6 separate regions of the Homo sapiens genome follow, and regions 2, 3, 4, 5 and 6 are each linked to region 1. The links are contacts of gene promoters, found by promoter capture Hi-C in blood cells and fetal thymus (Javierre and others, 2016). All regions are on one chromosome and are shown on one strand. The core of a region is centred on a gene start or on the middle of the fragment in contact, and the rest is flanking DNA. Distances in the headings are between cores, read along the strand shown. Region 1 holds the start of DYNLRB2 (dynein light chain roadblock-type 2). Region 2 has its middle 3.3 kb from the start of CDYL2. Region 3 holds the start of ATMIN (ATM interactor). Region 4 overlaps ARLNC1 (androgen receptor regulated long noncoding RNA 1). Region 5 overlaps ARLNC1 (androgen receptor regulated long noncoding RNA 1). Region 6 overlaps ARLNC1 (androgen receptor regulated long noncoding RNA 1).

Region 1 (3,683 bases), core at 257-2,756:
CAGCTATAGCAGTCCTTTCCAAAGCAACTTTGTTGGAGTACCAGGTGTTGAGAGTCAAGCGGGATTCTTTGGCTAGTAATAGTGAACTGGCTGAGATATACAGATTTCTTGGAGGGAAAAAAAGGAGAGAACTACAGTGATCAGAATCACCCACACCTCAACAAAAATTAGAGCAGAACTACAGTTTCTCAGAGTATTTCTGTAGTTAATATAATAAAATGACAGATGTGGAGTTGAAATGGATCATCGAGTCCAAGCCTGCCAATGAGTTCAAAACTGTCCCAGAGCACCCCTAACATGGACCATTCAGAATCCAGTTGACATTCCTAGCACGATGTATGCCTTGTTCAGTGTGAGACTACTTTCTGGAAATGGATGCACAAACAGAATCGGTATTACAGGAAGTTGTTATGGCATGATCCCTATGAAGATGCATTCCCAACTTACAGCTTGTATTTTGTAATCAATATTTGTCCTCCTCTAACCTCAGGAAGTCATAACACGACTCCAGCCATAAAATTTTCCTGCTGTGCTTCGTCGTACAATAGTGGCTCTTTTCCTCCTAGGCTATAAGGATATTATCAATGTCCCTCAAAAGGTCAAGTGACTTCTGATCATTCCTAACTGATCTTTAACGTGTTTCCTCCAACAGTTCCTTAAACACCCAATGGAATGCTCTTCTATGGCAACGTATAGAACCTCCGGAACTACCATTTGCAATTTTTTAGTAACTCAGAACTGTTGATTTTTAAAATGGCAAAAATACAGATCCTAATGGATACTGACAACTAACAGAAATACTGACAAGTAGCAACTCTTCAATGGAGTTGAGAACAGGAAGAGGGTGCTATAACTAGGTGAGAACATAAAATGTGCAACTGTGCTTACTCTACTGATCTTAGAGTAGACAGATAGAAAGTAATTTTTTTAAGTACATAAGGTTGTACTATTTGATGCTCTGATATATTTTTCTTCAATATAAAAACTACTGGGAGGCGAGCGAACAGTATCTGCCCTGAACAGGGCAGTACTAATGGACGGTCACAGGCAGCTAAGACTATCACCAAACCCCTAGAGCAGCCCAACCCCGAAGTCAGATGGTCCTGTCCCCTCCTTACTTGCTCCAGGGCAAGTATCACACGTGGACATTACTGCTTCCGGTACTGTTTCGTGCATTTTGTTTGGTGCATTTTGTCCGTCTCCCTGGCACCTGGTGGGTGGTGAATCAGCAGTTTTTGAACGAATAAGTGGTTATCACATTAATTCGTGCCTCAATGAATGAATGAATGGACAAACACAGGCCGGGAGCCTGACCCACTTCCCTCTTCCCTCCCGGGACCCACTGCTCCAGGATTGGGCGAACCTCAGGTGAGCGCCTGCTCCCCTCTTCCGCGAACCTTCGCCTACGGCGGCCGGGAGGCATCAGGAGCGCGGTCAGGGCGAAAAAGCCGACTCGCGAGCGCGCAGGCGCAGCCCTGACGCTTCCGTGGGGCCACTTCCTTTTTTGTCTCCTAGCAACGGCGGGTAGCGTTGTTGACATCCCGGGAGGCTGTGCCGCCGGCCTGAGCCCAGAGTTTCGCGGCCTCCGCGATGGTAAATCTGGGGTCTCCGTCCACGCCCCGCCGTTCCAAGCACGCCGACCGTCAAGGACCTTCGCACCCAGCTTCTGGGGCCCACCCAGGCACGGGCGGTCCAGGGGCCGCGGCGGAGGCTGGTGGCTCCAGGATCTTCCTGGAGGGGCGAGAGGGAGACCTTGGAAAGGGGCAAGAAGATGTCTAGATGACTGGAAGCTGTTTTGGGAATTGATTTCGCGGGGATGGTACATAAGGAGGGGTGATGTTGAGAAAGGGAAGAGAGAGATTCAGAGGATGAAGAATGCTCAGGGGAGTGAGAAATCCGGGGAGCCAGGAAAGTTTCCAAAGAGGGGGCGGGAGGCCGAGATGGAGAGGAAAAAAAATCAGACCCTTAGAGAGAAGGAAGAGGTGGGACAGGGAAAGCAAGGGAATGGAAGGGTGAGAAGGGAAGATACTGAGAAAGAAGAAAGGGAAATAAAGAAAAAGGAAAGAAGTGATGGGAGACCCGCCCCCCTCCCCCCCAGAAAAAGAGGTAAGAAAAAAAAAAGTAGAGACTGTGGAAAGCAAAGGGCGTTAAGAGAAGAATGAAACGGGGATTGGAGATGGGGATTAAGAAATTATACTAGGAGCACTTACAAATCATGAGAAGAGAAACAACTGGGTGGAGAAATGGAAAGGCCAGGGAAAGAAAAGAAAGGAGTTTGGGAGATAAGTAAAGGGAGAAAGATAAATAAGGACACAGTGGCTGTAAGAAGCTGTGGACATCGTCTTAAAGATTGCCCAAAATGCAGTGAATTATTGATCCCCTGTTCAACGCTTACGGTTTAGTGTAGTGTTTCTCAAAGTCAGATGCAAACATTCGTTGCTACATAAGATGGCCGAGAAATGCTAAATAAGAGTGAATCACATCGTGAGAAAGTTATTCCTCTTCCATTTTGTTCAACCTTCAGACTACATACAGGAGAAAATTTCTGTTGCTATTAGGTCCTTAATACCACTGTCATTTGGAAATTTCCATTTTTTCATCCGAAGAGCAGGCCTCAGGCTCAGAGCTTTCATTGCAGTAGAATTTAATGATAGGCTCTCTCTTCATTTTGTTCATTTTGTTTGTTTTACAGTTATTTCTATTTATGAGGAATAACGTCAGGTTTCCATTTGTGGTAGTGACATACGATTTCCTCTTAAAATGCATTTATTTAAGCTTTTAGCAGTGAGATAATTTAAAGAACACCTAGATAAATAGTATACATGGCATTCATAATGGCAAGAATCATGAATCTAGTACACAAATGCCTAAAGTCAAGAAAACCTTGGCTCTGATGCTGAAATAGAGAAAATAAGTGCTCCTGCCCATACCAAGTACAAAGGAAAACTATCTTGAAGTAACAAAATGTTCACCTGTGCAATACTGAGGAAAAAAGAATATAGCAAACCCTCATCAAGAGAATTTGCAGAATTCAAAATATCCAGTGATTGCTCAGTCATGAAAAATTTGCAGGTTTGGAAAAGATCGTTCTTGTCTTTGAGTTTTCTACAGGGGAAGAAAACATACAATACACTCTACACATAAGATTCCGAATGAGTTTAAAACACAATAATAGATTCCAGAATAATCACTCATAGTTGAACATTCAGCTTGCACTGAGACGCAAGCTATAGTTATCAAGAAAATCCTAGAATCCTGGAATACTTTGTTTTTATAGACTATCCTTTAAATTTAATCATCCGAACTGATTAGGTCACATTAATGAAAATAAGATTTCTCAATAAGGACTACTTTTAGACAGAGGGAGGCCATGATATAGCTCTATAAATATTTAAAGCACTGTAATGTAGAAAAGGAATTTTCATTTGAATACAGCAGGGTCAATGAATGAAAGATAATCTGGGACAAATTTCCATGCAATGTAAAGAATACTTTTCTAGTAAATGGAAACAGATAAAAATGGAGTGAACTCCTGTGAGGCAGTAAGCTCTCTGTCTCTACAAGGGTTCAAGCCAAGAGATTCATCAGGATTGTATCCAGGAGGTCTTACGTAGGTATTTATGTGGGACTTGACAATTTCTAAGCTGTCTTTTAAAAATCTGAGATTATCACACCTGGCACCT
Region 2 (3,614 bases), core at 138-2,637, 270 kb after region 1:
TGGTGAGGATAAGGAATTAATAAATCAGAAAGCATATTTGGCTTAGAAACTGTTGAAATTGTTATAGAACTTCTCTCTTCATATTGATATTTTCCCGGTGGTCATGGTTTTAAATAATAACAGTAATAATAAGCAGTTCTCTATCTGTAGGTAGCTAAACAAATTTTAATGAGTCTTAATTTGTACTCACGAATAAATGCACCACCATAGCATGAGGATGTAATTTGGAAGAAGACAAGAAGGAAACTGGGCTTGGAAATAATATACTAAGCCAAATTTGAATATATAATCAGTAGTTTTACAAAAACACCAAAAGCTTGACTTGTACTGGCCAAGTACTCCCTGAGAATGTGAGTGCAGTTTGAAAAACCCTAGTCTAGACAACAGTTGTTTACAGAGTTCACAGAAGAGGATACTTAGTGTGGATGACCATGCTCAGGAAATGTTTTAGGACTGAAATGGATCTTGAAGACTCATAGAAAAGGAAGGACAGTGTTTTCCGTGAGGAGAAGAAGTCAGAGTAGATGGTAAGCAATTCTGCTATGGGAAGGGTATGAGAAGATTGGAGGACTGGTTTATGGAGGTCACAGGACCCTGGATGGTGAATGTGGGTCAGTTCGGAGATAGTCTTGAAAGCCAAGCTAAGAAGTTTGCTATTTAGTAGGTCAACAGTGGAGAAACTGATGAAGACTTTTGAATCAATCAAAAGCATGTGACTATCAAAAGTGCACTGTAGAAAACAAATTCTAGAAGAAATATGGGAAATCAACTGCAGGGTTTGAGGTTAGGGGCAGGGAGACCAATTGCAATGGTCCCTGGTGTTAGCAGTGGAAATGAAGAAGAAAAATGGGATTTGCGAGATGTTCAGAAGGAAGAACCAGGCTAACTTTCATTATGGTTACTCCACCTACTTCCATGAAGCATTCGATTCAGATCAACAGGACTTGATGACTAACAGGATGTGTGTGCATTGAGGACTTGGGGAGGGGCCGCGACTAAGGAAAGGATACAGAGATGACTAAGGTTTTAAACTGAGTGACTGAGCTACCCATCCGTCATAACACAATTTTATTTTGAGCTTACCCCCAGACCATGGCTAGCTTCCAGAAAAGGCAGGTGCTTCCTGAGGGATGAAGGGGGGAAGGGTCTTCACCCACTGTAGGAAGTTCAGCCCAACCAATTAACAGTGAGGCTCTAGGTTCTCCAGATGATAGAGAACTAGTGTTGCTCATGGAGAATGGAAGATAGCTGCCATCTTCCACAAACTGTGGTAGACTATTCATATTGGTCGTAACTCAAGATGAACTGATAGAAAGCTCTAACTTAAAACAACAGAGTATTTCCTGACTCATATAGACTAGAAAAGGATGGAATTGCTCTCAGGATTGGCCGGATTCAAGGTATGAAAGGATACAAAATAGCCTCTCTTACTCTCTCCTTCTTTCTGCATGCTGGTATCTTTCCTGCTGAAGACAGGCTTCTTCCATGCAGCTGAGAATATGGCACCTGGCCACTCACCTGGGCTTATGCCTTATACAGTATTTCTAAATCCCAGGGAAGGACTCTATTGGGCCAATGTAGCTCATATGCTGTCTTACTGGTCCAATCACCATAGTCAATAACTGATAGGACACTATGATTGGCCAGGCTTAAGTCATACTCCTATCTATGGGAACAATATGACAATTGGCAGTTTTACCAGAATTACATGATGGGAATCGGGTCTGAGCAGAAGCCTAAAGGAATGGTGGAAGGAATACTGAAACGGTAGGTGTTTACGCCAAAACAAATCTGAGACAGAAAGGGAACTTAGAAGCAAGGGCAGTAGCTGCCTGGAACACGGCCTTTTTAATATAATAGAGCAAGACCAGCAAGTGTAATGTCCAAGGAAAGATCGTATCCACTGCCTTAACAGTGGCATTGAAATGTGGCAATATTCTCCTTCCGGTATTACTTGAGACATAATCTTGACCTCCTGTATCCTGTGGTGGCTGAACATGTGGGCTCCAGAGGCAGATGGCCTGGGTTCCAATTCTTGCATCATCACTACTAGATATCTGGTGTCAGCCTCTTTGTTTAACCTCTCTACCCTTCCATTTCCAAATGTATGTGTTATTTATTACTGCATGATGAATTATCCCCAAAACTTAATGGTTTTAAACAAAAGGTTTTTCTAATTTCACAGTTTGTGTGGGTTGTGGATTTGACAGCAACTTAACTGGGGGTGGTTCTGGCTCAGGATCTCTTGTGAGATTGCAGTCAAAATGCTTGCTAGGACTGCATTGACCTGAAGGGTTGGCTGGGCTGGAGAATCCACCTCCAAGATGGCACCCTCATATGGCTGTTGGCAGGAGGCCTAAGCTCCTAGCCACATGGGTCTCTCCATAAAGTTGCTTGAGTGTTCTCATGTCATTCTGATCTTGGCCCCCCAAATCCAACAAAATGAAGCAAAACTGTCAAAGCTTCAACTCTTTCTAGCACAGAGCAGCTAACGAATCTGATGTTATAGTCCATGCTAAGAAGACTATTTGATGCACAGATGATTTACGACATGTCAGGTTGGATAACTGGAGATGTTATCTGATCCACACACCTCACTTTGAAGATGGAAAAACCAAGACCCACATTGGGTGATCCGAGAGAGAGAGCAAGGAGGAAGTCACAATGCCTTTGAATATCTCATCTTAGACACCAAACATAGTCACTTATTCTATTCTTTAGAACTGAACCACTAAGCCAAGCTCATACTCAAAAGGAAGCAAATTAGAATCCACCTTTTAAAGGGAGGACTATCAAAGAATTTATGGACATGGTTTAAAACCACCACACCCTATCTATAAATTGAGGTGATAGATACCCCATAGAGTTGTTTTGAGAATTAAATAAGCTAATCCATGCAAAGCATCTATAATAAGGGCTGAGTAATAGTCCCTGTTGTAATGACAACTATTACCCATTTCAAACTTAATATGAGTCACTAATATCCTTGAATGTCAAAGATTCCTATAGAAAGGCAGTAAGTCAAATAAAACCTTCAAACTGAGTATTGTTTTCAAGCTATGCAGAAATTCTTGTTACTAATTAGGCTTTATTTTCAGCATTCATTTGGTATATTTTACTTCCATAATAATGTTTATTATTATTAAAGTCATACTTATTTAGTATCTACAGTGTGCTAGATATTATTCTTGTTGAACAAAATAGTGTCCTACCCTTATGGAGCTTATTCTTGTTGAACAAAACAGTGTCCTTATGGAGCTTACAGTACAGAGGAGACAGAATAAACCAAGAAAATAAAACACATATATACATAATTTTATTTCAGGTAGTGATGTGAAGTAGGAAGAAAAGTGAAGCAGGTAAAGCGACAGGAACTGAGATGGAGGGTGCCGGGGACAGGAAGGGGTGCTGGCTTAGATAAGGTGCTTAGGCAATACCTCACTAAGGTGGTGACATTGCAACAGAAATTTGAACAAAATGAAGGAGGACACAAATCAAATCAAAGGGCAGAGAATGTCAGAGAGAGAAAATAGCAAGGGCAAAGCCCTGAGGCTGGAGAAGCTGGGTGTGTTCAAGGTCCTGCAAATAAGCCAGTCTGGCTGAAACCAACTGAG
Region 3 (3,737 bases), core at 630-3,129, 490 kb after region 1:
CCAACACTAACTACCTGGCGATATCATCAGACCCCATAGGTTAAGGGCTCAGTCCCACAAAACTGCCACCCACTTCTGAGGCCAGTTGCCAGCCCCAGGTTGTTTCACCTGCGCTTCTGACTAACCAGCTATAAATTGCATTTCCCACAACCCTCTCTTCATGTTCAATTAATTTGCTAGGGCAGCTCACAGAACTCAGGAAGACACATAGACTGACTTCTTACAAGGGATGTTACAAAGGATTCAGATGAAAAGATGCATAGGGCAAGAGCTTCCACGCATGCCCTCTTTGAGTGCGCCTCCCTCCAGGAAACTCCATGCATTCAGCTATCTGGAAGTTCTCCAAACCCATTTCTTTTGGGATTTTATGGAGGCTTCATTACCTAGGAATGATTGATCAGCTTAAGCTTCAGCCCCTGTCTCCTCCCCAGAGGTTGAGGGGGAGGGCTGAAAGTCTCAAGCCTCTAATCCTACCTTGGTCTTTCCAGTGACCAGTCCCATCCTAAAGCTACCTAGGGACTGTGAGTCATCAGTCAACTAATTAGCATACAAAAAAACACCAATTTGCTGATTCCAAGGATTTTAGGAATTGCATGCCAGGACAAAGACCAAATATATACTTCACATTATCACAGTTATCTTGCAAGGCAAAGGGACTTGGCAGTTGGAGAAATTATCCTGGATGATTTGAATGGGCCCAATGTCATCACAGGGGGCCTCAAGAATAGAAGAATCAGAGGGATCACTACTGAAGAAATCAGAGTGATGTGATGTGACGAAGACTCAACTCACCGTTACTGATTCTGGAGATGGAGGAAGGGTCCGCAAGCCAAGGAATGTAGGCAACCTCTAGAAGCTGGGAAAGGCAAGTGAACAGATTCTCCCCTGGAGCCTTGGGAAGGAATACAGCCCTGCTGACACCTTGATCTTAGCCCAGCAGTCTCATTTCTTTTGACCTCCAGAGCTGGAAGATAATAAATTTGTGTTAAGGCAGTAAGTTTGTGGTAATTTATTAATAGCAAGAGAAAACGAATATAGCTGCTAGTATGTAAAAGGTGGAAATTTTCACATAAAACTCTAGCCATACCAAAGATGAGTAGCAGCTGCCCCCTTTTAATAAAGGATGTGTTTCCAATTTCACTGCAGTCCTCACCCCTCCCTTTTGTCTACCCCAGCCTCCTATGTCCATTTACATGAACTACCCAGTCTAAGTATTAAGTTTTGTAATCGTATACTGAACTGCAGTGTCTCCCAAACAGTAATCCTAATTTCAGCAGCTAAAATAGAAGCAAGCAAATCCAGCCTTCTTAAAATGATTAATCCTATCAATAATAACAATCTTTTCATTTGTATAGTGTGGTCTAGGTCAAGTTACTTAATTTATATAAGCCTAAATGTCCTTCTCTGCACAAGGTGGGGCAAGTTACAGTACATACCCGCTACAGTCGTTTTGAAGACAAAATGAGACACAGCATGAAAAGTGCATCCACCAGACCCACCTGGTACCCAGTAAGGCCTAGGTAATAAACAACGGCGGAAATCAGTGTACTTCTGCCTCACCTGCCACTAGACATTTGGGTTGTTTCTAATCTTTGGGAAGTAAACGCATTGCTCAACGTATTGCTTTTTCTTTTATGTGACTACTGCCTGAAGTCACTTTCCTAGGAAGAATGGATCGATTAGAGAGGCGGGGCAATACCTTTTACCTGCTGGCAGGTGAAATTTCGCCTCCTGGCGGCGTCACCTAAAGTCCTCTCCCTCCAAGGCGCGCCCTCCGCGGCCGGCAGGGGGCGCCGCGGCCGCCTGGGCCCGCCGGATGCTAACAAGCCTGGCGGCCTCGCCCCCTGCCGGAAGTGGCTGCGGCGGGGGCGGGGCCTACGAACTGGGCCGGGCGGCCGTGCGGGAGCCATGGCGGCCTCGGAGGCGGCGGCGGCGGCGGGGTCCGCGGCTCTGGCGGCGGGTGCCCGGGCCGTCCCGGCGGCCACGACAGGAGCCGCCGCCGCCGCCTCGGGCCCGTGGGTGCCCCCGGGACCCCGACTGAGGGGCAGCCGGCCGCGGCCCGCGGGGGCGACGCAGCAGCCCGCTGTCCCCGCGCCGCCGGCGGGGGAGCTGATCCAGCCGTCGGTGAGCGAGCTGTCCCGGGCCGTGCGGACCAACATCCTGTGCACCGTGCGCGGCTGCGGCAAGATCCTGCCCAACAGCCCCGCGCTCAACATGCACCTAGTCAAGAGCCACCGCCTGCAGGTGAGCCCGACGCGGCCGGCGGCCCGGGGGGCCGGGCCTGGCTCCAACAAAGCGCCCGGCGCCGGCGCGCGAAGCCGGCCTCGGGGGGACGAGCGCCCTGCGCGCTGCCGCTGCCGCTGCCCCACCGGCCTCTGCCCTCCCCGGCCGGAGGCGGCTCTCGAACCCTCGCGGCAGGCGCCGCAGGTGCGGCCTCTGGGGGGGAGGAGGAGCTGGGAGCCCCGGGTCCGCCGTACGCGCCAGTTCCCTGGTTCCCTGGCTCCCTGGCCCCGAGTGTCGTGCCGGACGCCGGCCCAGGCTTTTTACACTTTTTTGCCTGTGAGTTCTTAACGGCGTTTTGGCGAGGGACGCATCGTCTCCATTATATTAATGAGAAACAGATTATGCAACCTAGATGATGCGGGGCTTTAAACCGGGGCCTCTGGTTCTAAAGCCCTGTGCTTGCCACGACACCCACAATGCCGCCCTTGGGTCCTGCCCAGTGGACTGTATGTGCCACAATAACTAGAAGAGAGGGTTTTAAATGTTCTCACCACCAAGAGACAATACGTTTGAGGTCGAGGACATGTTAAACACTCTGACTTGATCACTATGCAATGTATATGTCCATCCATGCTGCACACCGCACCCCATCAGTAGGAATAATTACTGTGTGTCGATTATGAATAAAAAAATGTTTTAAAGGAGCGGTAGGTTTGCCTCTAAACACCATCAGTCAGTTTCACGGTGTTGGTAAGATCAGCTCAGGACTGAGACCTAAGGGAAATTGCCCCTGTGGCTCTTCTTTAAGAGGGGGACACAGTAAATACACCATGACAATAGTCTCAACAACCCTCCACGTTATGCAAAACAGGGCAGTCATTTTCAACCTTGGGACACATCTGTGACAAGCTTATTAAAAATCCAGATGTCCAGCCCCACCCCGGACCTGTTAAGTCACAATCTCTCAGTCATTACAATGGCAAGTTTCCTTCCACCACTCTAGGCCAGCAGTGACATAATTCAAAAGCGCAAGTCATTGAAAGCAGTTCTGCGAATATGTAGCTTTTGATGATCAGGAGTAAATTTAGAGTACCCAGAATATTGCATGTTCTGTCTGCCCATAGTCAGGCTTCTGATAAGAATTTCACAGCAGAAAACTCTGAGGTTGTAGTCTCTAGTAGGACAGATGTGTCGCCAATGAAGAGTGATCTGCTCTTACCACCATCTAAACCGGGATGCAACAACGTTCTCAATTGAAGATCAGGGAGCCAGTCAGGAAATGTACCTGAGGTATGCTGAGGAAGACCGTGCAGGTGGGGCCGAATTGTTGGACTGAAAAGCTCTGGGTTTCTTTCAGCACTCAAGTGTAACTCTGGGAATGGCTTTCAACCTGTTGTTTTGTTTTCATACTAAATTTTAACTAAATCCTTTTCTTCCCTATTGTTTTTGTGTTTTTTTGTTTGTTTTTGAGACAGAGTCTCACTCCATCACCCAGGCTGGAGCGCAGTGGCGCC
Region 4 (3,235 bases), core at 338-2,837, 330 kb after region 1:
TAAAAAATAGAATGGGTATATGGGTACTCAAAGTATAGTTTCTACTGAATTCCTATCACTTTTGCACCAAGTTGAAAAATTGTAGTGAAACAATTGTAAATTGGGGACATCTGTAGATGGAAAAATAGGCACATGAAAAAGAAGCTCAACATAATTGGTGACTAGGGAAATTAAGGCCACAATGAGATGCCACTACACTCCTATCAGAATGACAATAAAAAAAAATCTATCAATACTAAGTGATGGTAAGGGCATGGAGCAAATGGAATTCTATGCAGAGCTCGTGGAAATGCAAAGTGCTACAGCCACTTTGGAAAACAGTTTCTTCTAAAGCTACTCATGCAATTACCATACGAACCAATAATCCCAATCTTAGATATTTACTCAAAAGAAATAAAACATATGTCCGCTGAAAGACCTGAACATGAATATTTATAGCAGCCTATTCATAATCACTCAAACCAGGAAAAAGCCCAAATACTAATCAACTGGTGAACACAAATTATGGTATAGCCTTATAATGAAATACTACATGGAAATAAAAAGGAAGGAATTACTAAGTACACGCAACAGTATTAATAAACCAAGTGTATTGTGCTGAGTGAAAAAAAAAAGGCCACGCACAAACATTTCATACTCCAATTCCATTTACATGATTATCTAGAAAATGCAAAACTATAGAGTCATCAACCAGATGAAGTTGTCAGGGGTTGGGGCAGAGATAGGGAATTGACTATAAAGGAGGTGACAGAACTTTTTGGGGTGATGAAAATATTCTGTATTATGGTTATAGTGGTGTTTACAATACTATAAATGTCAAAAATCACTTACCTATATGTGTAAATGAGCTGAATTTTACTGCATGTAAACTGGCCTTCAATAATCCTTACTTCAGAAAAATAATAAAGGGAAGAAGAAAATATTAAAGACATGTTGGCTAAACATTTTCTAAGCTTTAAAGAAAGTCATGAATCTTCATTTTGAATATTTGGTCTGAGACAAGAATAGAATAAACAAAAACAAATATACATTAAATACATTGTGGTGAAACTATAGAAGGCAAAAGGCAGCAAGATCATCTTCAAAGTCATGGCAGCAGCAGAGAGAGGGTACAGAAGACGAGGGCCAACAAGATTACCTGTAAATGAACAACAACAGAAGCCAGAAGATAAGAAGATATGTCTTCAAAGTTTTGTGAAAAAAATAATCTTAAATCAGCCAGGCATGGTGGCGTGTGCCTGTAATCCCAGCTACTTGGGAGGCTGAGGCATGAGAATTACATGAACCCGGGAGGCAGAGGTTGCAGTGAGCCGAGATCATGCCGCTGCACTCCAGCCCGAGAGTGAGAGTCTGTCTCAAAAAAGAAAAAGATTAAAAAAAAAAAAACCCATAAATCTAGAACCTTCTATTCATTCAAATTAAGAGAGGGGAAGGATAATTTGGGAAAAATAAAGACTGAAAAAAAAATAGCACGAGCAAATACTCATGGAAAGAATTACTGAAGGCTACAGTACTTTTAGGAAATCAAATTCAGAAGGAAGCACATACAAGGAATAATAGTAAGTAGACAAGCTGGTAAACATATCAATAAAAATGATAATGTTAATAACAGCTGTTGAGGGAATAAATACAAAATGGTGGTATACTAGTTAGTAATAAAAAGGAACAAACTATTGATATACTCAACAACTTGGATGGATGTCAAGGGCATTATGCTGTGGGAAGAGAGTCAATCTCAGATGGCCACATACTGCATGATCCCATTTGTGTGACATTCATGAAATGACCCAGTGATTGAAATGGAGAATAGATAAGTTGCCAGGGGTCATGGATGATGAAACTGGGTGGGGGGTACAGGAATCTCTCTGTACTATCTTTACAACTTCCTGTGAGTCTACAATTTTAAAATAAAAGACTGAAAAAAAAGAGATTAAAGCTGAATTTGCTGGTATGAAAAAATAAACAATAACAAGATGTAATCACTAGATAACAAAAACATCCACGATGTTGGGGAGACCAGAGTTAAACCATTTTAAGGACATCATATAGTTGGAAAGAGAATAAAGGTATTAATTTGAAGTCTTCAGTCAAATATGTGCATTAAAAATTTAAGGAAGACTAAAAGAATAGAAAAAGAATACATACTTTCTAAATCAGTGGGGGAGAAGGAAAATAATAAGGAAAACTTTATTAATTGAATAGAAGTTATGAAAGAAAAATAAAAGCTTGCTAAAACATACACATTCAAAAAATCAGTAACATTCCTTTAATATTAGTATAACAAATTTTACATTTAGAAAAGTAATTCAATTCATAAATATAACAAAGGAATTGCAGTATCTATAAAATATCTAAATGAAAACTATGTGTGACATATAAAAAAACTACAAATATTTATTAAACATGTTCTGTTTACAGATATCTAGCCTTGAGAGATAAAGAAAGGATAACAAGTTCCAAATGTATTCATGAACAGCGTGTGCTTGATAAGAAAGCAAAAGTAACCACGTCGTGCTGGTCTGCAAGTGGGAGCTGGAAGAATGTTATAGCTCCTAACATGGGAAACGTTGACTAGCTGAGTGAAAGAAAGGATATCAGTCAATAAGTGCTCCACGTATGCACATGCCAGGAATAAAGTCTGTGCAATTTAATCCCTGTTTCTGATGGAATGAGCTGGGCAAGGGCTGGTGAGTTGAGGGCTCCTACTTCTTTCTGGAGTAGGGATGCAGCTCAAACAAGGTCTGGAGCCTGATTTAGGAGGGAAGGCTGGAGTGCTCAACCTTGCCTTCCTCTGCAACAAGCCTGGTGGTGGTACCCAGAGGTCAAGCCTAGTATAAATCACCACTGCTGCCGGCCGCATCTTGTGCCAATGAGAACATCCAAATCAGGGAGGGTCTTGCTGTAGGGTCACCAGAGAGAGGAAAGGTTTATACTGCCTCTATCTTCTTTATTCACTGCCCCCAGTAAGAGTCTCATCCCGTTTGAGACAGGAGTGGGAGCATCCAGTTCAACGGTTGCATCCAGATGGATTTGGAGTGATCAGAATCTTTCTCCCCACTCAGGTCTTAATTGCTCTAGTTAATTAAGACTGCAACCTCATGTGGGTAAAACTACAAATGCTCATTGAGAAAATGTGCGATAGAAGTTGAATAAATCAAACTATGCTCCTGAAGAGGGAGTTATCAATCTTCCCCAATCAATCCATAGGTTTGGTTTAATGTGATTGAAATCAAGA
Region 5 (3,344 bases), core at 644-3,143, 290 kb after region 1:
CCCTTCTTCTCCTGCAGCCAAGCTGGGCAAGAAGAGATTAGACTCCAGCCCCTTGCAAAAGCTTCAAGCTGCATGTGTCACCAAAAGACCTTGAGAAAGTCACAGGAAAGTGTCTAAAATCTACATAGAAAACATTTGCCCAAGGAGACTTGTGTGACAAGGCAGGGCCCACTTTGCAGAGCTGGCAGATGTCACCATTGCTTGAGAGTTCTTCTCCTTGACTTAGTTCTGTAAACCAGATGCCCCCCAACACGCTCTAGTTTGATGACGGCATATTTTCTTTTATTCTCCAAATAAAATGTGTCGAGCTCCCATCTCATGTACTAGGAGAGGTCCTGTGACCTTTCCAGTGCCTCAGAGAGTGAGAATGGGAAAGAGGAGTGGATGAAGTAGGGCTTACCCTCCTGTGGGTCACCTCTCTTCCCTGCTGCTTCTGAACCCCACTCAGCCTCCTTCCCTCTTCCCCAGCAACTATCCCAAAGCTGTTACATCGTGTGGCAAACGTTTACTGAGGCTTTTAGGGATAATATAAGTGGTTTCTTTACAACCATTCCTTCACAGCCAGAACGCACGTAATTTAAAACTGTGTCATTTTCACACACGTCCCATAATGTCTCCTTCATGGGGAGCTTCTCATGGCCTTGGTCTCTCCCCAGAGGCTGCCTATGGCCATATTTCTGGGATCCAATTCTCACACACTGGGCCCCTCATTCTTGGGCTTCCCACATTCAGTTACCTCATTCTTGGGCTGCCCACAAACAGTCAAAATCCTTATTTTCTAAGCTGAAGCAGTTGAGCTCTCTCACTTACCCTTACAAATCTAGGTTTTGCCTAGAAGTAGTCAAAAAAGCAAGACAGAGACATCTTCATCAACCACAAAGTCTCATCAAAGTATTTTACTCCATCAAAGAGCCATTCACTTCTGATAGCCATGCTCTTCCTCTCTTAAAAGGCAGATTCTCTTTGTTTTTTTTTTTTTAACTAAATACAACGTTTTCTTCCTACCACACTGCCTCATGATCCTATTAAAAGATATCAAGATGAGGACCAGCCATGAATTCACTTCCCTCCGCAGTCCACTAACATGTTGCTTTAGTGAAAATAAACAAAACAAAAATTTAGAAATTAAACTAGGGCATTTGGATTCTTAGAAGGGATAAAACTGCATGGTAGTAGCATACGGTGATGTCCTAGATTCAATTCTATGACTATTCAGTGGCTGGAGTGGATCCTCATGGCCTACACAAATTCTTTAAGATCCCTGGGCTAGTTAGCACCCATGCAGTGGTCAGCTACATTCCCAAAGCACTGCCCATCTCCCACCATTGTTACAAGCCCCAACTCCATGCCTAGAAATTAGGCAAGTCCAGTACCCCACCATACAAGCCAAGGAAGCTTCAGGTATTACAACCTGGATCATAGCCACGGTCTTGGCTTCTCTCACTTTTCCCCTGGTTTTGGTCCTCACTTCCAGTTCTCCAAAATCTACCTGTGTCCTGACTCTGGCTGTGATTCTACTCTAAGTGCCATACACATCCCTTTCACCACTGACAGATTTTGCTTCCCTGGTTGTGACATTCAGCATTCTCTACTGCAGGGCTTCTCAACCTTGGCACTATTGGCATTTGGGTCTGGGTAATGCTTTGCTGTGGCAACTGTCCTGTGCATTGTAAGATGTTAAGCAGCATCCCTGACCTCTGTCTACTAGATGCCAGTAACACCCCATCATTGTCAAATGTCTCCTGGGGCACAATGTGGCACCTGGTTGATAAACACTGATCTACTCAACTTGCACTTGTCATTTTGCGGCTATGAAAACCACCTCTCAACAGTAAAGGTCTCCAAAGGAAACCAGTGTGGATGAGGTGTTCGCTTCATCTGAGCTCTCCTGTGAACCTGGTAAAGTTCTAACTGTCCAAGAAGTGCTCCATCAAGACTTGCCTGAAGAATTCTAAGCAGTTCAAATCTAAAAATTGACCTCGTCTGGCTGGCCAAAGCCAAAACATATGATTGAACATTCATCTATCCAATTTTTAATATGCGAGCAAGACTTGGTGATTGAATTAACTTTTTCTTCTTTTACTCATATTTGGGGGCTTATACTCAACCCAACCACTGGGAAGCCAGTAGTACCCAGAGGACACAGTTGAAATGAGGCACAATTAGGAAAAACTAGGCTGTTTAATATCCATATTGAGTAGCTTTGCAAGTTACTTTCACAAACTTCCCTACAGAATTGGTTCTAACAGAACTGTTCAAGGCCAAGGATTTGTTTTTTCTGGGTCTGGGGGAGTCATCTTTATAATTTTAATATTCCATTAGAATGCCTTGACGCTAGAAGGAGGGTCCATCTCAATCACATCAATAAATTGATCCCAACCTTTATAAAAATAAGCTTGGATAGAAAGGAAAATCCGAAGACTAAGGTAGTCTGGTAGAATACTAGAAGGAGACATCTTTTAAGAGGAGGACAAGAAAAGGCATGAAAACAGAGAACATGGTCCTACACAAGGCAACTGGCTTCAGTGCTACCCTACAATTCTTATTTCCACTCAACGTCTGTTCTAAGGTGGCCACATTTACAAATGTTTACAACCCCACAGTGAGAAAACAAGGTGTATTAGTCCGTTTCATGCTGCTGATAAAGACATACCTGAGACTGGGAAGAAAACGAGGTTTAACTGGACTTACAGTTCCACATAGCTGGGGAGGCCTCAGAATCATGGCGGGAGGCGAAAATGGCAGCAGCAAGAGAAAATGAGGAAGAAGCAAAAGCGGAAACCCCTGATAAACCCATCAGATCTTGTGAGGCTTATTAATTATAAGGAGAATAGTAGGGGAAAGACCAGCCCCCATGATTCAATTACCTCCCCCTGAGTCCCTCCTACAACACGTGGGAATTCTGGAAGATGCAATTCAAGTTGAGAGTTGGATGGGGACACAGCCAAACCATATCACAAGGGAAAGAAGACAAGAAGCTATCCTGTCTCCAACAACCAATATGTTGTGTTTACATAGCTTTGAGTTTTTCAGATGCCCCAAGATTCTAGAAGGAAGAGAGCTCAGAAAGGAATTACAAGGGGTTTGTAGAGGAAACCTCTGGTTGGTGTTATAAAAATTATTTTGTCTCCACAAATTAGAAAACTGCAAGGTTCTCATGCCCATACCTTCTTGAAATTCAAATGCACTTTTCATTCCTGAGGTGGAGAATTTGGGGTTTCTTGAGGAAAATTATTTTTTAATGAAAGCATGAGAAATTAACAGTTTTCAAACAAATTTATTACATATCTAAAGTTCCTTCCAACTCCCACCCCAGTTTTTTCATATAATTTCTGCTTTTATTT
Region 6 (3,584 bases), core at 550-3,049, 310 kb after region 1:
AACCAACATCTGTTTCCAAAGAAGTTACATCCTTTTATGAGAAATCATTCCTTCAACTTCTAAATAAAATGTCTCCGTTTACATTTGCAACCGTGATTTTCCAGCTATACTTGTTTATTAGGCGGCAAAGATTTCCCAAAACTAACTTCTTAGTGGTTGTGTAACTAACATTCCTTTCTTCTAAAACAGTCCTAATAGAAATATAATACATACCACAAATGTGATTTTTAAATTTCAGTAGCCAAGATAAAAAAAGAAGTAAAAAGAAACAGGAGAAATTAAACTTAATAATATAGTTTACTCAACCCAGTGTATCTGAAATGTTATCTTTTAGTATATAATCAATATGAAATAATTTTTTCCAGCCTCTATATTCAAGATCATCGATATGAAATTTTTTCATATACATTTTTTTCATACTAAGCCTTTGAAGTCTGATGTGTATTTTATGTTTCTAGCATATCTCAATTTGGACTACCTACATTTCAAGTGCTCAGAAACCACATGTGGCTACCATATTAGGCAGCACAGTTATAAAAAATCGGTGTATTCCTACAGAGTTGTGTTGAACAGTTGCTCCCAGTCAAACTTACTGCCATGGTTATTGTTTCAAATGTACGTGTCTTCATGTTAACTCTGCCACAGAGGTTTGGGTAAAGTTTTCCCATTTATTAATAATAATTTCCTGAGAGCCTTATATGGTAGATGTTTTAAATAAGTTATTTCATCTAAACCTAACTTAAAAGTAGATATAATTATTCTCATTTACAGATGGTAAAATGGAGACATACAGAGGCAAAAACTTGCCTCATGTCAGGCAGCTAGAAAATATCTAGCTTAAAAGCTTGTATTCTTTCCTCCACAGCAGGGTTCAGCAATTGTTTTCTGTAAAGGGCCAGCTAGCCCCTAGTCTAGCCTTTATGGGCCACTCATTCATTGTGACAACCTCTCAACTCTGCTGTTGTGGTGAGAAAGCAGCCATAGGCAATATGTGAATAGATGGGTGTAGTTGTGTTCCAATAAAACTTTATCTACAAAAGCTGGCAGCAGGCTGGATTCAGGCCTTGGGCTATTGTTTGTCAACCCTGATCTACAGCATATCTTTATTTAACTCTAGCATTTCTCAAGACACTTTGAAAGTGATTATTCTGGACAACCCAACAGTCATCATTGTATGCATAAATCTCAGAATGAGATGACAAAGGCTTAAATTTTGAGACAGCTCAGATAAATAAAAAAACTCACTGAAGTCCATTCTTTTAAATAGTATCTTACCTAATCCTTGAGGGATGTGGTGTCTTCCTATCCTCAGACCTCACCAGCAGGTGTTAGATTCTCATACCTTCACCCTGTGGTCTAAACTGAGTGTTCAGTTTGTACCTATTCTATCATACATGTTCAGCGCATCCTCAATCTGAGTGTTCTGGCCTCTCAGTTATCCAAAGGTACAACTACCCAGAAGAAGTGAAGGTCCTCCTCTGAGAGTCAAACTGTAAATCAAGATACAGGAACTGGAGCAACGATCTATGAATTCATCTTAAAGACCCAAAATGACTCACAGGCCCTAACATTAAAATATGCCCGACTTGTTGGCAGGATGGATGGATGATTGAAAGATGATAAATCAATTATGACAGATTGTTGGTAGATAGATGGTTGATAGATGATTGATAATCAATAGATGATAGATCAATTGATGATAGATATATCGTTGGTAGATAGTGCATAGATGATAGACACAAAGATTAGATTAGATTAGATAGATGAAAGAGAGAGAATACTTAACACTAAACACGAGTGCTCAGCAACAGAGAGAAGAGAGTCACGGGGCAGTATTGGAGCTTTCCATCTCAGTGTCATCTAAGGAGCAGGCTGCCCTTTCAACTATCACAAAAATCTCTGCTTTGAGGCTAGACACAGCAGACCTAAGCAGTAAACTTCCAGTCATACAACCAGCTTCACTTTATTCTCATTCCCAGTCATCTTCTGATTATGCTTTGGTTTCCCATGAAGTTTTTTTGAACAAAAGAATGTCCTAATCAAGCCTTGGCAGCTGCCTTATCTCCCCAACATGTTTCTTATTATAAACCAATAAACGAGTATCTGTTCGACGCTTTGGTCTCCGACAGCCTTGTTCATATGGCCTGTGATCCTAGGTCAAGCTATCTCCGGTACAAACTCTCACTTCTTAGTCTGCAAAGATGAAGGAGAGATCCAATGGGGACTTGAAGAAATTTACCAACGTCAATGAAGAACACTTCAGTGGCCTAGCTGTTTATTTCTAGCAGGAGAGTTTTTTGGTTTCTGTACACTTTCCTTGATCCGAGAACAACTTTAGAAGCAAGAGAAAAACAAAACAAAAACCCTGTTTCTTTTCCAAGTCCCCATTTTTCTCTGCCTCTGTTCTTGGAAGACTCTAGCAAAACACTTTTCTAGAGTAGTCCTAAAAATGGGTCCACCTGCCCCCTGGTGGCAGACATAAATGGATCCCCATAGACTTACAAACCCTCCTTCCTGAACTTTCCCTGCCAGGGGAATTGTTTTCTACCCTCCTCAGCACTGGGGGGCTCATTTACTTGAATAAGATGAGCACTGGTTCCCCCAAAGATGGCCTTGGGCTTCCTGACCTGACTTAGAGGGCCTGGCTTATCTGAGATCTGCACTGAGAGCAACCATGGGCCTTACGAAGAACCAGGAAAGTGAGAGGCTGGAATGCCTTGCGAAAAGAATGAAAGGATTTGGAGTCCACTGAGAAAAGCTTCTGGAAGACACTTCTCAAATTTACCAGAAAAAAAAACATGGTCTCAGGGCAAGAATTTGGAGAAGAATGATAATCAGCATAGACCGCGTTACAATGGTGTAATGACTCAATGGGACCTTTACCAGTCCTACAATATGCGTTATCTTTATACTTCCTTATCTGTGCTGATTACCTCCCATTCATCCCTGTGGGTCCAGCTTCTGTGCCTTTCCCTGTCCCATGAGGCTGACCAGTATGGATTACATCAGTGGGCTCTCTTGCCCTCTTGCTTCTTGTTGGGTACAGCCAATGAAAGTGACCAGCAGAAATCAGAGGGTAGGAGGAGAATGAATCCGGGCAGTTGTCATTTGGGCTGTCCCCCTGTGGAAGGCAGCCCTGTATATACAGCCACCCTCTCTGTGTTCCTACAATGGCTTCCTCACCTCACCCATTCAGGCCTGGGATGGTAATGCTCCACGTTGCCACCATCCCCACTTTGGTTCCCTTAAACTCTTCCCATACCTCTATAGGTAGTCACTTTATTGATCTCTCCTCAAATTATCCAGATCACATGTGCCATCTCTTTCCCACCAGGACCCTGACCATATGCCTCTCTGCCGGAATGTCCCTCTCTGGTCACCCGTCCCTCATTAACTCTGATACTTAAAGGAGGAGCATAAATATTACCTCCTCTGTATGCAAGTATGGTAAGGAAGAGTGTTTACTGCTTCCTACAGATGGGGGACTATGCCCAGTCTCTGCCCTGAGACCAGGGACAAGTTCTATTCTCTGAAAATGGGGGTAAGGGCACTCACCGGCAGGCTGTCTAGAGGAACATGCGTTC

What was found. The method cuts DNA at HindIII sites, captures the fragments that hold promoters and counts their contacts. A CHiCAGO score of 5 or more calls a contact.
Region 2: a fragment that was not itself captured here is called in contact with the fragment with the promoter of DYNLRB2 in region 1 in 15 of 17 cell types (M2 macrophages, M1 macrophages, megakaryocytes and 12 more); the score reaches 14.4 in M2 macrophages.
Region 3: the fragment with the promoter of ATMIN here is called in contact with the fragment with the promoter of DYNLRB2 in region 1 in 2 of 17 cell types (monocytes and naive CD4 T cells); the score reaches 5.8 in monocytes.
Region 4: a fragment that was not itself captured here is called in contact with the fragment with the promoter of DYNLRB2 in region 1 in 1 of 17 cell types (endothelial precursors); the score reaches 5.9 in endothelial precursors.
Region 5: a contact is called between a fragment that was not itself captured here and the fragment with the promoter of DYNLRB2 in region 1, in 7 of 17 cell types (endothelial precursors, M2 macrophages, megakaryocytes and 4 more). The highest score is 16.3, in endothelial precursors.
Region 6: a contact is called between a fragment that was not itself captured here and the fragment with the promoter of DYNLRB2 in region 1, in 6 of 17 cell types (endothelial precursors, megakaryocytes, M2 macrophages and 3 more). The highest score is 12.5, in endothelial precursors.

Annotation. Positions count from the first base shown.
Region 1 is chr16:80,539,487-80,543,169 of GRCh38, forward strand. It overlaps DYNLRB2 (dynein light chain roadblock-type 2), which reads left to right and starts at 1,507. Exons shown (of 4, transcript NM_130897.3): 1 at 1,507-1,593. The coding sequence starts at 1,591. All of the region lies in intron 1 of DYNLRB2-AS1 (DYNLRB2 antisense RNA 1), which reads right to left. RefSeq lists an enhancer at 1,558-1,647. The HindIII fragment of the contact is 6,420 bases long and covers 1-2,773 here.
Region 2 is chr16:80,806,095-80,809,708 of GRCh38, forward strand. No RefSeq gene overlaps it. Among named protein-coding and RNA genes, the nearest start is that of CDYL2, 3.3 kb to the left of the region's middle. The HindIII fragment of the contact is 2,146 bases long and covers 315-2,460 here.
Region 3 is chr16:81,033,963-81,037,699 of GRCh38, forward strand. It overlaps ATMIN (ATM interactor), which reads left to right and starts at 1,880. Exons shown (of 4, transcript NM_015251.3): 1 at 1,880-2,244. The coding sequence starts at 1,909. CENPN-AS1 (CENPN antisense RNA 1) reads right to left here. Exons shown (of 4, transcript XR_007065134.1): 1 at 2,775-3,737; 2 at 793-964. RefSeq lists silencers at 1,700-1,989, 2,200-2,549. The HindIII fragment of the contact is 2,725 bases long and covers 406-3,130 here.
Region 4 is chr16:80,873,296-80,876,530 of GRCh38, forward strand. All of the region lies in intron 1 of ARLNC1 (androgen receptor regulated long noncoding RNA 1), which reads right to left. Among named protein-coding and RNA genes, the nearest start is that of ARLNC1, 18 kb to the right of the region's middle. The HindIII fragment of the contact is 1,272 bases long and covers 952-2,223 here.
Region 5 is chr16:80,833,004-80,836,347 of GRCh38, forward strand. All of the region lies in intron 2 of ARLNC1 (androgen receptor regulated long noncoding RNA 1), which reads right to left. Among named protein-coding and RNA genes, the nearest start is that of CDYL2, 30 kb to the left of the region's middle. The HindIII fragment of the contact is 1,000 bases long and covers 1,394-2,393 here.
Region 6 is chr16:80,849,975-80,853,558 of GRCh38, forward strand. The region is part of intron 1 of ARLNC1 (androgen receptor regulated long noncoding RNA 1); the gene reads right to left. Among named protein-coding and RNA genes, the nearest start is that of ARLNC1, 41 kb to the right of the region's middle. The HindIII fragment of the contact is 1,914 bases long and covers 843-2,756 here.